Regions from separate parts of the Homo sapiens genome. Here all the other regions are linked to region 3. The links are contacts of gene promoters, found by promoter capture Hi-C in blood cells and fetal thymus (Javierre and others, 2016). All regions are on one chromosome and are shown on one strand. Each heading gives the region's core, a stretch centred on a gene start or on the middle of the fragment in contact. The rest is flanking DNA. Distances are from core to core; before and after follow the strand shown.

The links. Contacts are between HindIII fragments. The CHiCAGO score rates a contact against its expected background, and 5 or more counts as called.
Region 1: a contact is called between a fragment that was not itself captured here and the fragment with the promoter of FAM133B in region 3, in 1 of 17 cell types (neutrophils). The highest score is 5.1, in neutrophils.
Region 2: a fragment that was not itself captured here is called in contact with the fragment with the promoter of FAM133B in region 3 in 3 of 17 cell types (neutrophils, fetal thymus and total CD8 T cells); the score reaches 5.7 in neutrophils.

What each region holds. Positions count from the first base shown.
Region 1 is chr7:92,767,226-92,771,664 of GRCh38, reverse strand. All of the region lies in intron 3 of CDK6 (cyclin dependent kinase 6), which reads left to right. Among named protein-coding and RNA genes, the nearest start is that of CDK6-AS1, 67 kb to the left of the region's middle. RefSeq lists an enhancer at 2,585-3,124. The HindIII fragment of the contact is 8,013 bases long and covers 1-4,439 here.
Region 2 is chr7:92,812,832-92,817,209 of GRCh38, reverse strand. The region is part of intron 2 of CDK6 (cyclin dependent kinase 6); the gene reads left to right. Among named protein-coding and RNA genes, the nearest start is that of CDK6-AS1, 21 kb to the left of the region's middle. The HindIII fragment of the contact is 2,668 bases long and covers 563-3,230 here.
Region 3 is chr7:92,587,589-92,591,873 of GRCh38, reverse strand. FAM133B (family with sequence similarity 133 member B) reads left to right here and starts at 1,484. Exons shown (of 11, transcript NM_152789.4): 1 at 1,484-1,606. The coding sequence starts at 1,583. RefSeq lists enhancers at 1,327-1,606, 1,697-1,756. The HindIII fragment of the contact is 8,062 bases long and covers 1-2,647 here.

The sequences.
Region 1 (4,439 bases), core at 1,336-3,835, 180 kb before region 3:
ATTAGGCATGAGAAAGAGAGGACCTGCTCTGAAGGACCTTTAGAGTATAAGAGAAGAGATAAAATGCAAACACAAGCCTGTGGTACACATTCTGTATGGTTATTTAAGTAGTTTAGGGGTATTTTCAAGTCAAGAACAGACTACTTATGTATAAGTAAGCACAGTCTATATTGTGCCAAACTATTTTTTAAAATACTTAAATTTAAATTACTTTTCAAAGGATCCAAATCATAGGTATTAATATTGACATTGTCTTGCATAGATTAAAACGTATCATGTTGTTAAATAATTATACATATCTAAGATATTTTTATTTTTTTTTGAGACGGAGTCACGTGTCTAAGATATTTTATTTTTATTTATTTTTTTTTTTTTGAGACGGAGTCACATATCTAAGATACTTTATTTTTATTTATTTATTTTATTTATTTTTTTTTTTTGAGACGGAGTCACCAGGCTGGAGTGCAGTGGCGCGATCTCAACTCACTGCAACCTCCACCTCCCAGGTTCAAGCGATTCTCCTGCCTCAGCCTCCTGAGTAGCTGGGATTACAGGCACGGGCCACCACGCATGGCTAATTTTGTATTTTTAGTAGAGACTGGGTTTCACCATGTTAGTCAGGCTGGTCTCGAACTACTGACCTCGAGATCCGCCCACCTCTTGGCCTCCCAAAGTGCTGGGATTACAGGCATGAGCTACCATGCCTGGCCAGATATTTTAACATGAAATATATATAAAATAGAAAATCAAAACAAGACCTCATCTAAGATCATTTAAGCTCAGGGGATTTTCCTCTACCCACTTTCCTCTACCCAGTGTTGTGTTTTCTGTGGCACTGTTTACCAGTTAACAGGCCACTGAAACTCAGGATATTCTAATGCACATTCAGGACATAAATTGCATTAGTTGGGCAGTACTTGGATAAAACTAGGATGCTCCATGGTGTCTTACTAGATATCATAGGGGTAACATCATTTTGCTTATCATTTCATCAACACGTTTGTTAGAAAAGAGCCCATGATGATCTTACTTTTCTAGCTTACTTATATCACCTAACAGTTTTTGAAGTGCACTTAAGTGCCATTTGTTTTCGAAAAATAAAAAAGACATTAAACCACACCATAAGCCATAAGTACTAATAAAGGTTGATAGTTGGGTAAACTTATTGGGGAAACTCTAATTATTGCACGGTGCTCATGTGGGACTTTAATAAAGTACATTAAGAGTATAGGCCTGAACTGAAAATTTTCATTGAGAAGTTCATGAGAATAAAATAAAATCATAGGTGATTCTTTCCAACATCATTAAATATACCTTATTCTAAAAAAAAAAAAAAAAAAAAAAAGCATACATAGAAATCACATTCATACTTCATCTTGGGGTTTTCATCACATTATTTAACCTCTTTTCTTGATGTCCTTTAGGTGCATCCATTCTTGGTTGACAATGACATTTGCATAAAGCAGCCTGTTGGCTGCTGTCCTGTGAAGTCAACAGATATTCTAATTTTCCCTCATAGACTTATTGTTGACATATCTGGCTTTCCTCTTTCTAATTCAGGATATTATCTTTGGGTCTGTTTACTTGTGGAGGAGTTCAGTGCCATCTTTATTAAATTTTTATTGGCTCATTTGAGATTTAATATTGCCTTCCTGGGTTTCCATGCTGAGATTTATGAGGCAATAATTGACACCTTAATGATTGTGTTATTTTTTCTTTTAGAGTACGTGATAAATTCAGAGTATCTATGCTTATATAGCACCTTCCATTTATGGAGCTTTATGAGAAAAAAAAACAGCTCTCAGATTTTTATTTTTCTCTTTCATGCTTTCATCTGCCATCCTATGAGAGAGGGTCAGAAAGAACTGTAAAGAAATTTGCTCACCATTTTTCTTAGTAATTTGTAACTGCCACCCAGAATAAGAACTGTACACTGCAAGATACAGATGGAGAGAGACTCTTATGTAAAATATTCTCCTGTACAGGCTTTTCCAAATGTAATGCCCTCTTTTACTAAATCATTCATTTGGTATTTAGTCTTGTCTGTATAATACATTAATCTTTCCTAGGATATGACCTGGCTTCTCAACTATTTTATAAACTCTTTGAAAACCTAAAATTATTCTGTGGACATTCTGTGCATGAAACATGTTTGATAAAAAAAAATGTTTGATGCAATTGTCAATATAGTTTCACAAGTTTGAGGCACTGAAAGGTCACACAAAAGAACAGCAGCCTCTAAAATAGGACAGGGTTCTTTGAGCTCAAGACCATATGGCCTCTTTTGATGATTCAATCTTGGAATAAAATTTTTTTTATTTATGTATCTTTATGATAAATGAATTCTATAGAGCTTGAGAGGGCCAGAAAAGCTCCAGGTTCATGTCTGTGTGGGTCGTTTTCTCTGTGAATTAGATTTCATTTTATCTTCAATTGAATGTTTCTTAGAGTTTTCTATTGGTTGTAATATTTTTAGTAAGAGATAAAACACACTATTAGGTTTATTTTACAAAACCCAGACTTCAGAAACTGACACACACTGTTAATAGCACCTGTTTTTTGCCTCTGGGAAATGTCTGTTTTCATGAATAATATCTGCTTGCAGTAAACAGTGGCTCTGATGTCAGTATGGGATGCCCAGGGCTGATTCATCTTTCTCAGTTTGACATAATGCAAAGTGACTGACTGGTCCCTGTACTGCAGATGAGGAAAGCCTCTCAGATCTTCTTCTCTTCTCACTCCTAAAGGAATCAAGCCATGGCCCCTCTCAGCTCCTGGTGGTCTCCATTTTGCCTGAATTACGAGCAGGTGATTTGTCTCATCTTTGCAGGACACAGAGCAAATTAACATGAAAATATCGCTTCCCAGAAAACAAGGCAGGCTTGAATGCCCTGTCGCTGCTGGTCATTAGCCATCTGCCACCGACACTCATACTCTGTTTATCACATTTGAAATTCAGAGCAGATGTTGCATAATAAGGTGATCCCAAAAACAAGGCAAGAAATTCAAAGAACAAATACTCTACCATAATGATAAAGATCTTGGAAGGAAATTTTTTTCAATCTAATATCATAGCTGCACTAATTGAATAGACCATGTTTTTAAAAACACACACACATCTCTCCTGGTATTTGATGCAAACTACTTTTCATAGTAACAGGAAATAATTTTAAAAAGAAAGTACATTTGTGAAAGACACCTGAGAGGACTGTTCAATAAAGTCTCTTTAAAGAAGCAAAGTCGAATGTTGGAATAACATAGTTCTGGTTTAAAAGACCTCATAGATCAGTGATGCCATCTTTTACTGTAAGATGGGCCTTAACCTACAGCAATTTGACTTAAAATAGTTCACTCCTCACAGTATAGTAGATCTTTCAAGGCTTTTAACTTGCGAACGTGGTTTCCCAGTTTATTTTCTTTTTGGCACTCAAGACCCTGTGTTTTCTATATCCTTTGTTTTCACTGTTTACCCCTCTACAAACTCCCACCACCGCTATCAGCCTCCCACCTTCAGCATCCCTTGTCTCTCCAGAACTCTGCCCCAGCTTACCCTGGCCTTAGGCTCTCTCCAACCTGAGTCCCAAGATTCTTTCATTTTTAGTTCTTCTGCCCTTCTCCATTAATGTAGCTTTTTACAGTATTGGTTATTATAATGTTTTACCTAGTTGATTTATGCACATTGTAGACCCTTATTATGCCTTATTCAAAGTATATCACTTATAGTATATTAACTATGGTGTTTAGAGACATTCTGTTTTTTTTAAAAAACAGGCATCCAAACTTTTACCAGGAATGTGACCTATATTCTGTGGAAGACGAGCTTTTAATATAGTCTTTTGACTCCAAAGAAATATTTTCTCCACAGAAACCACAACTTTACTGCCCCTCCCCACTCTGCACCCCTCTGCCCCCACACATACTGAGAGTTTTGAAATTTGGGGTTTTTTTTTAAAGACTATACTGCTAAGCAAAAATTAAGCAGCCAGCCTGAGAGTAGACAGGGGGATAAATCAAAGCAGTGCCAGCAGCTGACCACTGAGTGGAATAGGAGAGATGATTTGAAGGATGGAAGAATAGTGAGTCAATACTGAGTATATTCCAAATTCAGGGGGAAATGTAGAGTGAGTGAGCTCTAACAACTGTGGGAGTTTATACTACTAAAGTCAGAAGCCCAGATCTAAAGTGTAGAGAGAAATAAAATCTTCAGTGTAACCTTTCTAATTAGTAAGATTTCAGTGTAATCTTACTAATAATTTCCATTTGTTTCCCTCTGCTCCAATCAGGAACATACATATTGTGCTTTCAAGTATCTTTCATTCCAAGGGAAAACTCAGTAACTCAAGCAACTTCTTAAAGGAGAACATTTTTATGCAGTCTAGATTCTGAAGACTCTCAGAAATAAATCCTTTTGCAAATTCCTAACCCTTATAGTAGCTGAA
Region 2 (4,378 bases), core at 647-3,146, 220 kb before region 3:
GAGGTAATGCTGGCTTCATAAAACGAGTTGAGAAGTGTTTCTTCCTCTTCTATTTTCTGAAAGATTTTGTGTAGGATTGGCATTCTTTCTTTCTTAAACATTTAACAGAATTTACTAATGAAGTCATCTGGGCCTAGCATTTATTTTTGAGTAGGTTATTAACTACAAATTATATTTTCTTAATAGATATGAGACCTTATAGGTTAGATCACCTTTTATAATTTTGTATTTTTCAAGGGATTTGTCTATCCTAGGGTTTTTTTGGGGGGGTGGTAGTTTATTGGTATAGATTCTTTAACTCCTTATCTTTTTTAATGTCTGTAGAATATGTAGTGATGTCCACTCTTTTATTCCTGATATTGGTAATTTGCATTTTCCTCTTTTTATCTTGACATACAGATAGAGTTTTGTCAGTTTTATTGATGATAATCCAGTTTTTTGTTTCATTAATTTTCACTTCTGTTTGTCTGTGGTCTCTTGATACTTATTTTGTTTTTATCTTCTTTTCCTACTTACATTGGGTTTAATTTGTTCTTAGTTTTAGCTTCTTAAAATAGAAGCTTGGATCTTCAAATATATGCATCTTCCCACAAATTTGAATATGTTGTGGCTTAATTTTCATTCAATTTGGGTTATTTTAAGCCATTTTTAGTTATATATTCTTTAATCCATGGATTCTTAAATTTCCAAACATGTAAGGGATTTTTCTAATTTCTTTCTGTCTAATTCTGTTGTGATCAGAGAACAATTCTGTATGATTCTAATACTTTTTAAAGATAGTAACACTTGCTTTGGTCCAACATATAGCTTATCTTGGTACTTGTTCCATTTGATTTTTTATTTATATATTTCCAATTTTCTCCTCACTGTGTCCATGTTTTCCTTTAAGGCCTTGGGCATTTTTGTAGTGTTTATAATAGTTTATTTAATTTCTTTGTCTGCTATTCCATAAGTTCTGTCATTTCTGAGTCTATTTCTATTGACTGATTTTTCTCCTGCTTATGGGTCATGTTCTGTATGGCTGCATGTCTAATAATGTGTTATTGGATGCCAAACATTGTGACTATGACATTGTCAACTGCTGGATTTTGTTCTACTCCTTTAAAGAGAATTGGATTTTGTTCTGGCAGGCAGTAAAGTTATGTGTGGTTCAGTTTTATACTTCCAAGGCTTATTTTTAGTTTGTCTCTTTTGTTGTTGGGGAGAGGATCTAGTGTATGTAGGCTTTGCTTCCAGGCTAGTTTAGCCCTACTAAGACATTACTCTTTTGTAGTCTCTCTTCTTTGGCTGGTAAGGAGTTTGAAACATTTTCTGCCCTCTGTGAGCTCTGGAATCATTCATCTTACAACTCCTTGGTGATCTTTTCTCAGAAGCTGACCTTTCTTGACTTCATGCAGTTCCACATGTGTAGCTTAATATTCAGCCAGGGACTCAATAGACCCCATGTAGATTTCTGGAGCTCTTCTTCAGTATTGTGTCTTCCAAATTTTAGCCACTTTGGCCTCCTTGTCTTCTCAACTCTGATCTCTGCCTACCCAGCTGGGCAAGACTACAGAATTTACAGAACTCTGAGGTTCCTCCTTCCTGTACCTGTGGTCTGGAAATTGCCTCCAAACAGAAAGCTAGGGCAATCTAGGGCTCACCTCATTTGCTTCCCCTCTCTCAGGGATCACAGTCCTCTACTACCTATAGTCCAATATCTGAAAGCAGTTGTTTCATATGTTTATCTAGTTTCTAGTTGTTTCTGGCAGGTAAGAAGTCTGGACCTTCTTGCTCCCTTACTGCCTTGTATGTCCATTAGTTTTTATAAAGACTGGTTAGCTAGTAAGACTATTAAATAGGATCTTTTCCTCCCTGCTGGCTCTCATTTCTGAGTAAAATTTTTGGGAGACTTGTTTGGCATAGGAATCTTGGGATGGGAGTATGCTTCACAGGCTTTACTTTTGGGTGGCTGGAAAAATGGCTGTCAGGATGTGGAAAAACTCTCAAATGTCACAATAAGAAATGGTTTACTCCAAGATCTTAGGTACAGGGATGGCAATAGGAATGCTAACTGGTGCAGTTACCCTATATACAGACATTTAGTTGACTCCCCTGAATGTGGGAAGAAAATGGCTGCCCTTCTTCCTCCCTTTTTCCATTGCACCTGTTGACTCGTAGTCCAGCTTCTGCTTCCTCCACGGTGCCCTCATGGCTTGTTCTAGGGCAGTGGCCTCCCTTCTAGTAAAAATATTTGAGCATGTCACTGATATTCACTGAATTATAAAAATTATGTACATATACAGATATATTATTATATATTTAATAAAAATAATGATTTTGAAATGAAGGGGTACAAAATACCTAAAAATAGAAGATATTTTCTTAATACATCTCCTGATTATATGTTCTTCACTTTGGAGACTACTATCTCTTTGGTGACTTCTTCCATCACCTTATTTCTGTTTATTTTCAGTCACCCAGCAAATTTACTAAATTCTCTCCTTTTTGTGTATGTGGGACGCCCTTTTGTAATTATGGGTTTATTTCTTTTACTGAGAAAGAATGGAGGCAAATATTTGTGATAGGTCCACCATTTTGAACTGGAAGTCTGATTACACTTCTTAAAATAAATTTTTGAATAATCAAAATGTCTTTTTTTTTTTTTTTTTTTTGCAATTCAGTTTGCTTTCCTGGTTGGGAGCAGAAGGGCTGCAGCCCAAGAATTGCTTATTACCTGCGGGAAGTTTTTGTTATGCAGCAGTTCTTAAATTTGGGTAATGTCAAAGGGCATGTGAACCAAGGAAGTTGTCTGCTAATTTCACCAGAAGCAAAAAAGTTTAAGAACAGCTGCTCTGGAGAAATATTGGGATCACATGAGATATACTTTTCCCCTATTTATTCCACATTCCTTAATTTAGAGGACAGTATAACCATCTGGAGAGGATCCATAATTGAAGAAAGAACATTGTTTCATTCTTCTGTTGCTGATTGCACCTGGCTATATAAATTCATTGTCATCTTCTAGGTTTTCATACTGTTGATATACCATCCCTGAAACCAACAGCTGATATAAATTGTAACATAGAAAAGCTAATTTGACATCATATTGGGAATGTTAGCCAATTGATTTTTCTTAAGGGAAACAAACTGAAAAAATAAGCCCACTATGAATTAATTCTTTGCAGGAAATTCCCATGTCTGATTATTTAAAAGAATAAATTCTGCATGCAAATGAATCATTACAAGCTTAATTGAAGCTTGCGGGATACTCAAGTTTACTCACTGTGGTGTGTTTTTGATGGAGACAGGAAGTGAAAAAGCAAGGTCTATGAGACTTTTTTTTCCTATGAAGTCTCAGCCAGTCTTTTAATGTTTCTCATTGAGAAACTTTGGTTGGGAGGGTAAATGACTCAAGGTATCTATTGCTGCTTAGCCGTTTTTAAGGGGGCATTTCCCCCCATGTTCCTCCCCTCCCCAAAATAGCTAATTATGTACTGGAAGTTTCAATACATTGTTCACAGTTTGTGAAGTCAGCATATTTCTGGAAGCTCACTGTGAATGTAATTCTTAACTGTACAAATGCTTTTGTTTCTCCATCTCTGCAGCTAGCTCTGTACTGTAAGGACACAATTCTATCGCTATTTTTTCCCTCACATTTGATGTGGTAGTTTGCATACAGCTGCAGAGTAGACAGTTACCTTTGAAAGGAACATTTGGCTGCTCTAATTTGATTAAAGAAAACCACCTCAATCATTTCTAGACTGAGAACGTTTTCATTTTAACTTGGCAGTAGGAGTTGGGAATGTACTCATTGCACTTAGATATGTGGGGGACCAGTTAGGGAACAAAACCAACTGCTTGAATGAAGAAAGCTTTGGTGCATTTTTTTTTTAAAAGCAAGCAGTATGATTCCCTTTCTGTTTCCCTCTCAAATTCTCTACAACCTTGATTTTCACCTCCATCTTCTTTTCACGGTTATTTACTTTGTAATTCCAGTAAACGAATTCTGGCAGGAATAGACTGCTACCCTAAAGTGATTTGTGATTTAAAGGACTTCAGGGTCCTTAAAAATTATCCCATTTTACATAGAAATAAAATCCCAAATCATGAATTACTATGAATTGCATATATTTTCTTGGCCACTGTTGAGAAAGGCAAAAAAAGTTGTTAGATCATGGGTGTACAGACCAAGGCTGGGAATTTAGTTGTAACTTACTTAGAAGAAAATTGCTCCTTGTCAGAAGGCTGCAGTCAACTCACATATATGCCCTTTGTTTCTGACATAGAAGAGGGTCTGATCACCAAATTAGTATGACAATTAAAAATAAATTCTGGTGATTGTGAATTGGCATCAACTTTATATATGTTTTTAGAAATGATTGAGCAGTGGTTAATG
Region 3 (4,285 bases), core at 235-2,734:
GAAAGAAAGAATAACTTAATATTAATAGGTTCTCCTCTTCCTCTTGTGTATAAAAAGAAGCCTGTCTTCAGTCAGAGTCCCCAGCTTAAGTCGGGGGTAATGGAGGAGGAGGAGAAATGAGAGACTGGAGGCCTCATTTTGGAAAGTGGGTTACTGAGGAAGAATCAACACTTAGTAGGGAGCAGAACCACCAAGGACTGCATGTGAGAGTTTGGAAAAGTTTTGAGACAGAAGATGGTAGTTGGGAGCATCTGTCATATAGTGTAGCATGAAAAATGCAGGGAGGGAGGGAGGCAGAGATCGGGAAAGATGATTTTAAAGCATGTTCTTGTATGTAATTAGTGTAATTCCCATTTTGCCATTTCCAAGAGTCCGGAGAAGATCCTAATTGATTTTCAACTACTTCCTAATGATACTTGCTAAGATGAACCCAGAGGGGTCGCTTTATCTATAAATACTTACTAAATATGATTATCTTCTCTGGAGCCCAGATCATCTTCCTTAAAGTTGCAGTGCAGTAGTGCCAATATTACGATATGCTATGCAGTAAAGTTGGCCCTGTGTGTGTTTATTGCCCTTACGAGTTTATAAACAGGCTCCTTGACGATAGGGATTTTTCTTAATCATCTTTGTGCCCTACCCAGCTCCAGCTTCCAGCCACCCAGTTAGTGAAAACTGTACAAACTACATGTTCAAAAATTAGTGTGAAATGAATGCACAGGTGATGAATGAATGGGATTGAAATTAAAGGGTGATTTCGTTAGCAGCGTCTATGACAGCACTGCCTTTCCCCCCACCAGCTGATGGGCTCCGTGAGGGACCAAGGCTCTTTGGTCCTCACTTTGTCCCCAGCACTTGCACTCTGTCAAGCACAAAATAAGCATCGGGAGAATCTTTGTGTCCCCTCGAATGAGTATTTCAGTGTATCAAGAATGGAAGAAAGGCCAAGCGCAGTGGCTCATGCCTGTAATCCCAGCACTTTGGGTCGAGGCGGGCGGATCACTTGAGGTCAGGAGTTATAGACCAGCCTGGCCAACGTGGTAAAACCCTGTCTCTACTAAAAATACAAAAAATTTAGCCCGGCGTGTTGACGGCCGCCTGTAATCTCAGCTACTCGGGATGCTGAGGCAGGAAAATCGCTTGAACCCGGGAGGTGGAGGCTGCAGTGAGCCTAGATCGTGCCACTGCACTCCAGCCTGGGCGACGGAGCGAGAGTCTGTCTAAAAAAAAAAAAAAAAAAAAAAAAAAAAAAAAGAATGGAAGAAAGCAAAACAATCCAAGGCCAAACTGAAGCGAGCTGCCTTGGTGGGGCTCCGGTGCAGAAGCGCAGCGTCGCCTGCTCTTGGGTGCCTAATGAACGACCGGACTCCTGCAGGCGCTCCGCCAACTGCAGCGATCTCTGGAGCCGGCCTGTCCTCCACAGAGATAGGGGGCGCTGTAGCAGAGCGCGGCCGTCGAGTCCGCGTGGTGCCGCTCTCTAGGCGGAGTGGGGAGGCGGCAAGAGGACCTGCGGCAGGCCCTCTTCGGCAGTCTCTCCGGCCCGGTTTCCCTCGGCGTGCTACTGTGCGCTCGATCCAGCACCATGGGGAAGCGGGACAATCGGGTGGTGAGTACTCAGCCGGGAAAACAGTGGGGCGACGCAGGGCCCGGCGGCAGGACAGCGAGAACCCTCGCTGTTCCCGGCCGGGCCGGAGGGCAAGCGGCAGCCCTCAGACGTGGGGCCTGGAGACCCAGCACCCTCCGCCGATCCCAGATGCGCGTGCGCCGCGCACGCAGTTGGCGCTTTAGGGTTCCCAGCTCTCTCTTGCCCGCCCCTTTTTTCTTCCCTCACCTCGTCGCTCTTTCTGGCGCTGCTGGTTTGCACTCTTGCCTGCTGTACGCGGGCCCCCAGTGCCCACTTAGAACCGCGAGGGCTCGGGGAACCCCCCCCACACCTGGCCCCGCCATGTAACTCCGAAGACTTAGGCCCTTGGACGCATCCGACTCACCCGCCCCTTGGTATCGGCCGCCCCAGGTCCGCACCCCTCTCCTGCGCACCCAAGTGGGAGGGAGGCACAGAGGCCTCGACGCGGTCCCTGTGCCGGAGAGCCAGCAGCGCGCCTGGTTTTAGCGACAAGCAGGCTCCCGTTTGAAAATGGGATGGCAGCATTTGCTTTCGTGTCTCCAGCGCCCTGTAGGACCTGGCCCCCATAGACACTGTGAGGGAATGAATGGCGTGAAAATAGTTGGCTTTCGAGTCCAACACAAAACTGGAATGTCAGTTTTGTTCCGTCGGAAGTTGGGTGACCTAGAACAAGTTACTTTTCTTCTCTGTGCCGTCGTTTATAAAAGGGGATCATTATTATCTACAACCTTACAGATTAATTGAAATCACAAAAGGCAAGATGTGTGAGCGAGTACTGGGCATGAAAATTATTACTCTAGTGAATGAGATAAAAGAGATGCATAAATAACTTACAGCAGAAAGAGTAGGAAATGGTCCTTGATAGTTGTTAGAGATTCTAAAGGCATTCAAAAGAAAAGGTGCTTTTGAGAAGCGGAGATGGGAGGAAAGTATTCTAGACCGCTGGGGCGGGGAGGGGGCTGAAAAACTCAGGTTATGAATCAGATTGAATGAGTAGTAAACATAATGAAATAACAATAAGCTTAGGTTGCAGCCTGACAATTTCTGGGCTTGCCTGTGACAAAGTTTTAGCCACTGAGTAGCAAAATGAGGAAAATGCACGTAAAACGAATGTGCTACGTTTCTTGAACTCGCTTTTTTATTCAACAATTATTTGCAAGCTGTGTGTGTCTCACACCAAAGGAGACTTAACATTTACGAAATGATGACACTTGCCATCTGTAGTAGCCAGTTCTTGCATGGCTTTTATAAAGAAAAACCTGAGGCTGGGTAATTTATAAAGAAAAGTGTTTAATTGGCTCACGGTTCTATGGGCTGTACAGGAAGCTTAGCGGCATCTGCTTCTGGGGAGGCCTCAGGGAGCTGTTACTCATGGTGGAAGGCAAAGCAGGAGCAGGCGTCTTACATGGCAGGAGCGGGACCAAGAGAGGGACGGGGAGAGTTGCTACACAGTTTTAAACAACCGCATCTGTTGAGAAATCATCTCTATGCAGTGCTGGGGAGAGGAGGATGCTAAGCCATTCATGAGAACTCCGCCCCCATGATCCAGTCACCTCCCACCAGGCCCCACCTCCAACATTGGGGATTACAATTCGACATGAGATTTGGGCGGGGACACAGATCCAAACCATTTCACCATCTTAAAAACTTTGTAGTTCTGTATAGTCTTTATAATGGAAAATGTCTAGGAACCACTGTGGTAGTGAATCTTGATTACAAGATAGCGGGTTGTTCTTTCTCCTGGCTGTAGGTGAGACTTTGTTGTGCTATCTTGATTGTCATGGCGTTGAAATTATGTAGCATAACACCATTTCAGCATAGGAGCATCCTTAGGTGTTTGAGTATTTTGGGCTCTTCTAATACCCTTGGGCCTTGAATGTTTAGAGATCACCTGACCTTGGATGCAGTTTCATATACAGACCTAAAATGTTTCATATTACTGAAAAAACGTTTTGGTTGAAACATTCCTCTAAAACATTTGAAAAACTTACCAAATTAGCTTCATTTACTAGAACATTTTGATAGCTCTGGGCTCTACTTACTACTTTTGGTATGCAGCTATGGCACAGAGTATTCTGGTAACATTTTGTGTGCACTTCAAAGATTGGGATTAAGAACAAGAAATTAAGAGGTAGAAGACACGGATTGTCTAATTCAGTCTCCTCATTGCATAGAGGAGGGGTAAGACTTTAAACTGGGACCAAAACTTCAGTCATCTGACACTCAATTCTGTACATCTTAACTCTTGATTTTCTTTTTAAGACTTTTTTTTTTAAGCATTTTTAGTTTTACAGCAAAATTGAGAGGAAGGTACAAAGATATCCCGTTTACCTCCTGACCCCACTCGTGCATAGCCTCCCCATTATGAACATCCTTCACCAGAGTGGTACATTTGTTAAAATTGATGAACCTACATTGACATGTTACTATCATCCAGTCAGTAGTTTACATTAGTGCTCACTCTTAGTGTTCATTCTCTATGGGCTTGGACAAATAAATTTATTTATTTATTTATTTAGACACAGTATCTCACTCTTGCCCAAGCTGGAGTGCAGTGTCGCCATCATGGCTCACTGCAGCTTCAACTTCCCAGGCTCAAGGGATGCTCTCACGTCAGCCTCCCAAGTAGCTGGGACCACAGGTGTGTGGAACCACACCTGG